2 separate regions of the Homo sapiens genome follow, and region 2 is linked to region 1. The links are contacts of gene promoters, found by promoter capture Hi-C in human tissues and cell types (Jung and others, 2019). All regions are on one chromosome and are shown on one strand. The core of a region is centred on a gene start or on the middle of the fragment in contact, and the rest is flanking DNA. Distances in the headings are between cores, read along the strand shown.

The links. Contacts are between HindIII fragments. The study calls those that stand out against the background at their distance.
Region 2: a contact is called between a fragment that was not itself captured here and the fragment with the promoter of ASGR2 in region 1, in 1 of the 25 tissues and cell types used here (IMR-90 fibroblasts).

Annotation. Positions count from the first base shown.
Region 1 is chr17:7,113,434-7,116,289 of GRCh38, reverse strand. ASGR2 (asialoglycoprotein receptor 2) reads left to right here and starts at 1,468. Exons shown (of 9, transcript NM_001201352.2): 1 at 1,468-1,675; 2 at 1,980-2,173. The coding sequence starts at 2,050. RefSeq lists an enhancer at 530-1,316. The HindIII fragment of the contact is 7,513 bases long and covers 1-2,856 here.
Region 2 is chr17:7,165,507-7,168,264 of GRCh38, reverse strand. No RefSeq gene overlaps it. Among named protein-coding and RNA genes, the nearest start is that of ASGR1, 12 kb to the left of the region's middle. The HindIII fragment of the contact is 4,369 bases long and covers 1-2,758 here.

The DNA of each region.
Region 1 (2,856 bases), core at 219-2,718:
GCACCTGTGTGTGCGGGTGCTTGTGTGTATGTTCTGGATCACAGCATGAAATTCGTCTCTCGCTGTGGGCTGCAGTCAGAGAGCCCAGCGGCTGCTGCTGCCTGGTGGCTGGGTGGGAATGTCAGGGTACTGGGGGGGTGGCTACTTCCCATGTGGGTCAGCAAGTTACAAGAACAGAAAAGGCCTCTGTTTGAATTCCTTTTCGGCACCCGGGGAAACGAGCAGCTTTATAAGAAACCCTGCCCGTAGCCATCCGCCCAAGTTTGGTGAGGGTCAGAAAATCATGCACAAAAACTGTGTTTTCTTTCCCGAGCTATTGTTAGCGCAAGTGTAGACAGTCAGCCACGTTCCTTGCTTCATGGAAGCCAGTCTTCCTCGTAGGACCATGAAGACCTTTTCTTTTCTTTTTCTTTCTTTCTTTTTTTTTTCTTTGAGATGGAGTTTCTCTCTTGTTGCCCAGGCTGGAGTGCAATGGCGCAATCTTGGCTAATGCAACCTCCGCCTCCCAGGTTCAATCGATTCTCCTGCCTCAGCGTCCTGAGTAGCTGGGATTACAGGCCCCTGCCACCACGCCCGGCTAATTTTTGTATTTTAGTAGAGACAGAGTTTCACCATGTTGGCCAGGCTGGTCTCGAACTCCTGACCTCAGGTGATCCACCCACGTCGGCTTCCCAAAATGCTGGGATTACAGGCGTGAGCCACCGTGCCCGGCCAGACCTTTTGTTATGATGTTATTTTCCCCTCTTTACTCCATTTTGCTTTGCCAGTTTCTCTACTCACCTGGGCCACCACCTAGAGCAAGTTGCCTCATCTCTCCGAGGCTCCGCTTCCGAACCCTGTGAAATGGGAGTAACAGAAGTCCTGCCTCGTGGGGGTGTTGTGCTGTGATAAATGAAGAAACACCTTGGAGAATTTAGGGCAGTGGCTGGGCCTGAGGACAGTGTTTGTGTTGCCTGGGCTGGGGCAGGGTCTGGGCCGGACGGGGCTCTCTGAGGTTGGATTCCTCCTGCGAGGAGAGCTGTTTTTCTGCAAAGCCCCTTCCTCCTCCTGCTGAAGCTTCTGGATTTGAGAGGCTTTACTCTCCAGGAGAGTGAAGCGAGTTGGGCCAGAGCTGAGAGTCTGGTGGCCGAGCCCACAGGAAGCTGGGGTCTGTGGTTCAGATGCCGGATTGGGCAAGAGTAGAGAACTGGTCGCTGTGATCCTGGTCAGGGATATTTGGAGACACCCACAGTTCTGGTAAATTCGGAGGCAGGAAGTGAGAGGGGGAGGGAGAGAGGGAAACGGCAAACTGCACCCCAGCCCCTCCTGGCCTGGCACCCCTTCCAAATGGTGCAATGAGTGGGGTGAGTGGCGTGTGGAGTTGAGCGCAGCCCAGGGGACCCCCCTCTCTGGGAATAAGAACAGAGATAGCCCCGTCCCCTGCCCCCACCCCACAAATGAGTTACAGCTCTGTTTCCTCTTCTGTTTACTGTCCAAAGTCCCAGGCCAGGAGGTGCCAGGTTAGAGCTTGGACACTCAGACCCTCCAGTGCAGGCCTTGCCCGGACCAGCCCCTCCTCCACTCTCCTCTCCCCTGTGAGCTCCACCTGCCCCAGTTCTCCTGGCTTTAACCCCTCCTTGGCCAAGGCCAGGGTTGCCTGCGGGAGCCAGGTGTCCGCTCTCCACACCTTTCACAGGTAACTGAGGCTGGGGAGGCAACTGGGACGAGGATGCTTGGGAACAAGGAGGCCTTGGTTCAGGGATGGGGAGGACCCCATGGGAAGCTGTGGGTGGTCGGGTCCATGAGCGTGGGGAGGGGTCTCCTGGCCAGGTCAAGGCCCAAGCGGTCTCCTGAGAAGGGAAAGGACCCAGCGGGATTTCAAACCTCATCCCAAACGCCCTGCCAACCTCAGATCCTACCCAGGCCACCACCCCGAACCCCTCCGACCCTGCGTTCCATCCCACCATCAACCTCCACGTGAATCTGCACCTCTGCCCCAGCCCCAGCCCTCAGAGCAACCTCAGCCCAGCCCAGCCCAGCTCCAGCTCCAGCTCCAGCCCGGGCCCCATCATGGCCAAGGACTTTCAAGATATCCAGCAGCTGAGCTCGGAGGAAAATGACCATCCTTTCCATCAAGGTGAGGGGCCAGGCACTCGCAGGCTGAATCCCAGGAGAGGAAATCCATTTTTGAAAGGCAAGTGTGCAGTTTCTGCGGCTTTGCTCCCCCTCTGTCTCAGCTCATGATTGCTCTGTCCCTTTGAGGTCTCTGCCGCACCCACTCTGTGAACAGGGACTGAGGAGGGCCCGACACCCCCGCTTGTTCCCTCACCTCACCTTCCTGTCTACCCCAGGACCCCAGGAAAGGCATGTGCCAGAGGTGTGGGGAGATCTGGAAGATAACTGCCTGCCCTTCTCCTCCCAACCCAAGAACACATGTGCCTCGTATGTGCGTGTGCACGTATGTGCATATGAGGAATGCAGATTCAGCTGGGACTCTGTGTGTGTGTGTGAGTGAATGTTGTGTGTGTGTATATGTGCGCGAGAGCGTGCATATGTTGTGTGTGTGTATGTCGTGTATGTGAGAGGGTATGTTGTGTGTGAGAGTGTGTTGTGTGTGTATGTTGTGTGAGTATATGTTGTGTGTATCTTGTGTGTGAGTGTATGTTGTGTGTTGTGTGTGTATCTTGTGCATGTGTGTATGTTGTGCGAGTGTATGTTGTGTATGTGAGTGTGTGTATGTTGTGTGTATGTTGTGTGTATGTATGTTGTGTATGAGTGTGTGTATGTTGTGTGTGTGTACGTTGTGTATGTTGTGTGTGTGTTGTGTGTGTGTATTGTGTGAGTGTATGTATGTTTGTGTGTTGTGTGAGTGTTGTG
Region 2 (2,758 bases), core at 219-2,718, 52 kb before region 1:
AGGTAACATGTTCAAGTAGTATAGATGCCAAGAATTCAAAGATGATTTAACATAAGAAAAATCTGTTAATATAATAGATTTAGAGAGTACAGAAAAATAGATTAAATGTGTACAAAAGAAAACAATTACACAATGCAGAAAAAACACTCAGCAAAAGTTCAGCTCTGATTTATGATGAAATCTTTCTGGACTCTAGCTGTTTCTACGTTGTTGCTCCATCGTTTCAATCTGTGGCTTCCATCACATGTTCCAAGATGTCTGCCCCTCCTGTTATGACACATTCCGGACAAGAGAAAGGGGAAAAGGGAAGGAGAATGGCGCATTCTCTCTCTGTCTATGCAGACACTTCCATCACTTCACTTTATATCTCTTTGATCAGAATTAGTCCCAGGGCCACAGATAGCTGCAAATGGGGCTGAGAAATGAACTTTATTCCATGAGGCCACATTCTTGCTAAAAACACAGGATTCTATTTTGTAGAGAAGGAGTCAGTAAACTTTGGCCCTCACCTGCTTCTGTAAATAAAGCTTTCTTTTTCTATTTTTTTTTTTTTTTCTGAGACGGAGTCTCTCTCCGTTGCCCAGGTTGAAGTGCAATGGCACAATCTCGGCTCACTGTAACCTCTACCTCTCAGGTTCAAGCAGTTCTCGTGCCTCAGCCTCCCAAGTAGCTGGGATTACAGACGTGCACCACTATGCCCGGCTAATGTTTTGTATTTTTTCTTTTTTTTTTTTTTTTAGTACAGACGGGGTTTCACCATGTTCGCCAGACTGTTCTCGAACTCCTGGCCTCAGGTGATCTGCCCATCTCAGCCTCCCAAAGTGTTGGGATTACAGGTGTGAGCCACCACACCTGGCCAGTTTTTTTTTTTTTTTTTTTTTTTTTTTTTTGCAACAAGGTCTGGCTCTGTCGCCCAGGCTGGAGTGCAGCGGCGTGATCTTGACTCACTGCAGCCTCTGGATCTTGACTCACTGCAGCCTCTGCCTTCCAGGCTCAAGTGATCCTCTTGCCTCAGCCTCCCAAGTAGCTGGGATTACAGGCGCAAGCCACCATACCCTGCTAATTTTTGTATTTTTTTGTAGAGACGGGGTTTCACCATGTTGCTCAGGCTGGTCTTGAACTCCTGTGCTCAAGTGATCTACCCGCCTTCGCCTCCAAAGTGCTGGGTTACAGGAATGAGCCACGGATCCCGGCCTGTAAATAAAGTTTTATCGGAACACAGCCATGCCTGTTTGTTTACATGTCATTTATGACCACAGCAACAGCAGAATTGAGTAGTTATGATAAAGACTGTATGACCTGGTAAGCCTAAAATACTTGCTATCTGGCCCTTTATAGGAGATGTTTCTGGACCTCTGGTGTAGCAAGAAGGGGATAATTGGTATTAGGGGTAATTAGAAGCCTCCGTTATAGTGCTATTATTGCTGTTCAGCATCATCCTGGGCATGGTAGCCAAACTGCACAAGACAGAAAAAGACATTAAAAGTTGTAAGAATTGGAAAGGAAGAGATAAAACAATATGCTCACCTATACAGAAAATCAACACCATCAACAAACAAACAAACAATTCGACCTAATAAGAGGCTTCGGCAGGTGTATTAGTCTATCACCACAATAACACATGAAGAACATACAAGAAGAAACTTAAATTCTTTCCAAATTAACATATACATTCAACGCAATAAAAATAAAATTTCAATTGATTTTCTTTTTGAGATGGATTCTCCCTCTGTCACCCAGGTGGGAGTACAATGGTGTAATCTCACCTCACTGCAACCTCCGCCTCCAGGTTCAAGCGATTCTCCTGCCTCAGCCTCTCAAGTAGCTGGGAGTACAGGTGCCCGCCACCACGTCCAGCTAATTTTTGTATTTTTAGTAGAGATGGGGTTTCACCGTGTTGGCCAGACTGGTCTTGAACTCCTGACCTCAAGTGATCCACCTGCCTCAAACTCCCAAAGTGCTGGGATTAGAGGAGTGAGCCACTGCGCCCGACCTCAATTGGATTTTTAAAAGCAATGCAACAACTTTAAAAAAAATATATGTGGCAAGATAAAAGTCAATATGGGAAAAAAAGGAGAAATTGGAGGAAGGGGGAACTAGCCTTATTAGACTTTAAAATATATTACAAAGCCATAGTAATAAAAATAGCACAGTAATGATACAAGAATAGACGGATAAACCAATGTTATAGAATAAAGAGCCGAGAGACAGAACTGTGCCTACATGGGAACTTAATATACAATAAAGGTAACATCTCAAATTGGTAGAAGAAAGACATTATTGGGAAAACTGGCTCACTCTATGAAGATAAGTAAAACTGGATTCATACCTAACATCACAGGCAAAGGTGGATGTTGGATAGATTGAAGACCTAAACATATAACATAAAATTACAGAACTAGTAGGAAAAAAGAAAGAAAGAAAAATCTATACTACTAAGAGTATAGAAGGGTTTCTTCTTCTTCTTTTTTTTTTTTTTGAGACAGAGTCTTGCTCTGTCGTCAGGCTGGAGAGCAGTGGCGTGATCTTGGCTCACTGCAACCTCTGCCTCCCAGGTTCAAGCAATTCCCCTTCTTAGCCTCCTGAGTAGCTGGGAATACAGGCATGCGCCACCACGCCCAGCTAATTTTTCGAATTTTAGTAGAGACGGGGTTTCACCCTGTTGGCCAGGCTGGTCTCCATCTCCTGACCTCATGATCCACCCACCTTGGCCTCCCAAAGTGCTGGGATTACAGGTGTGAGCCATCGCGCCCGGCTG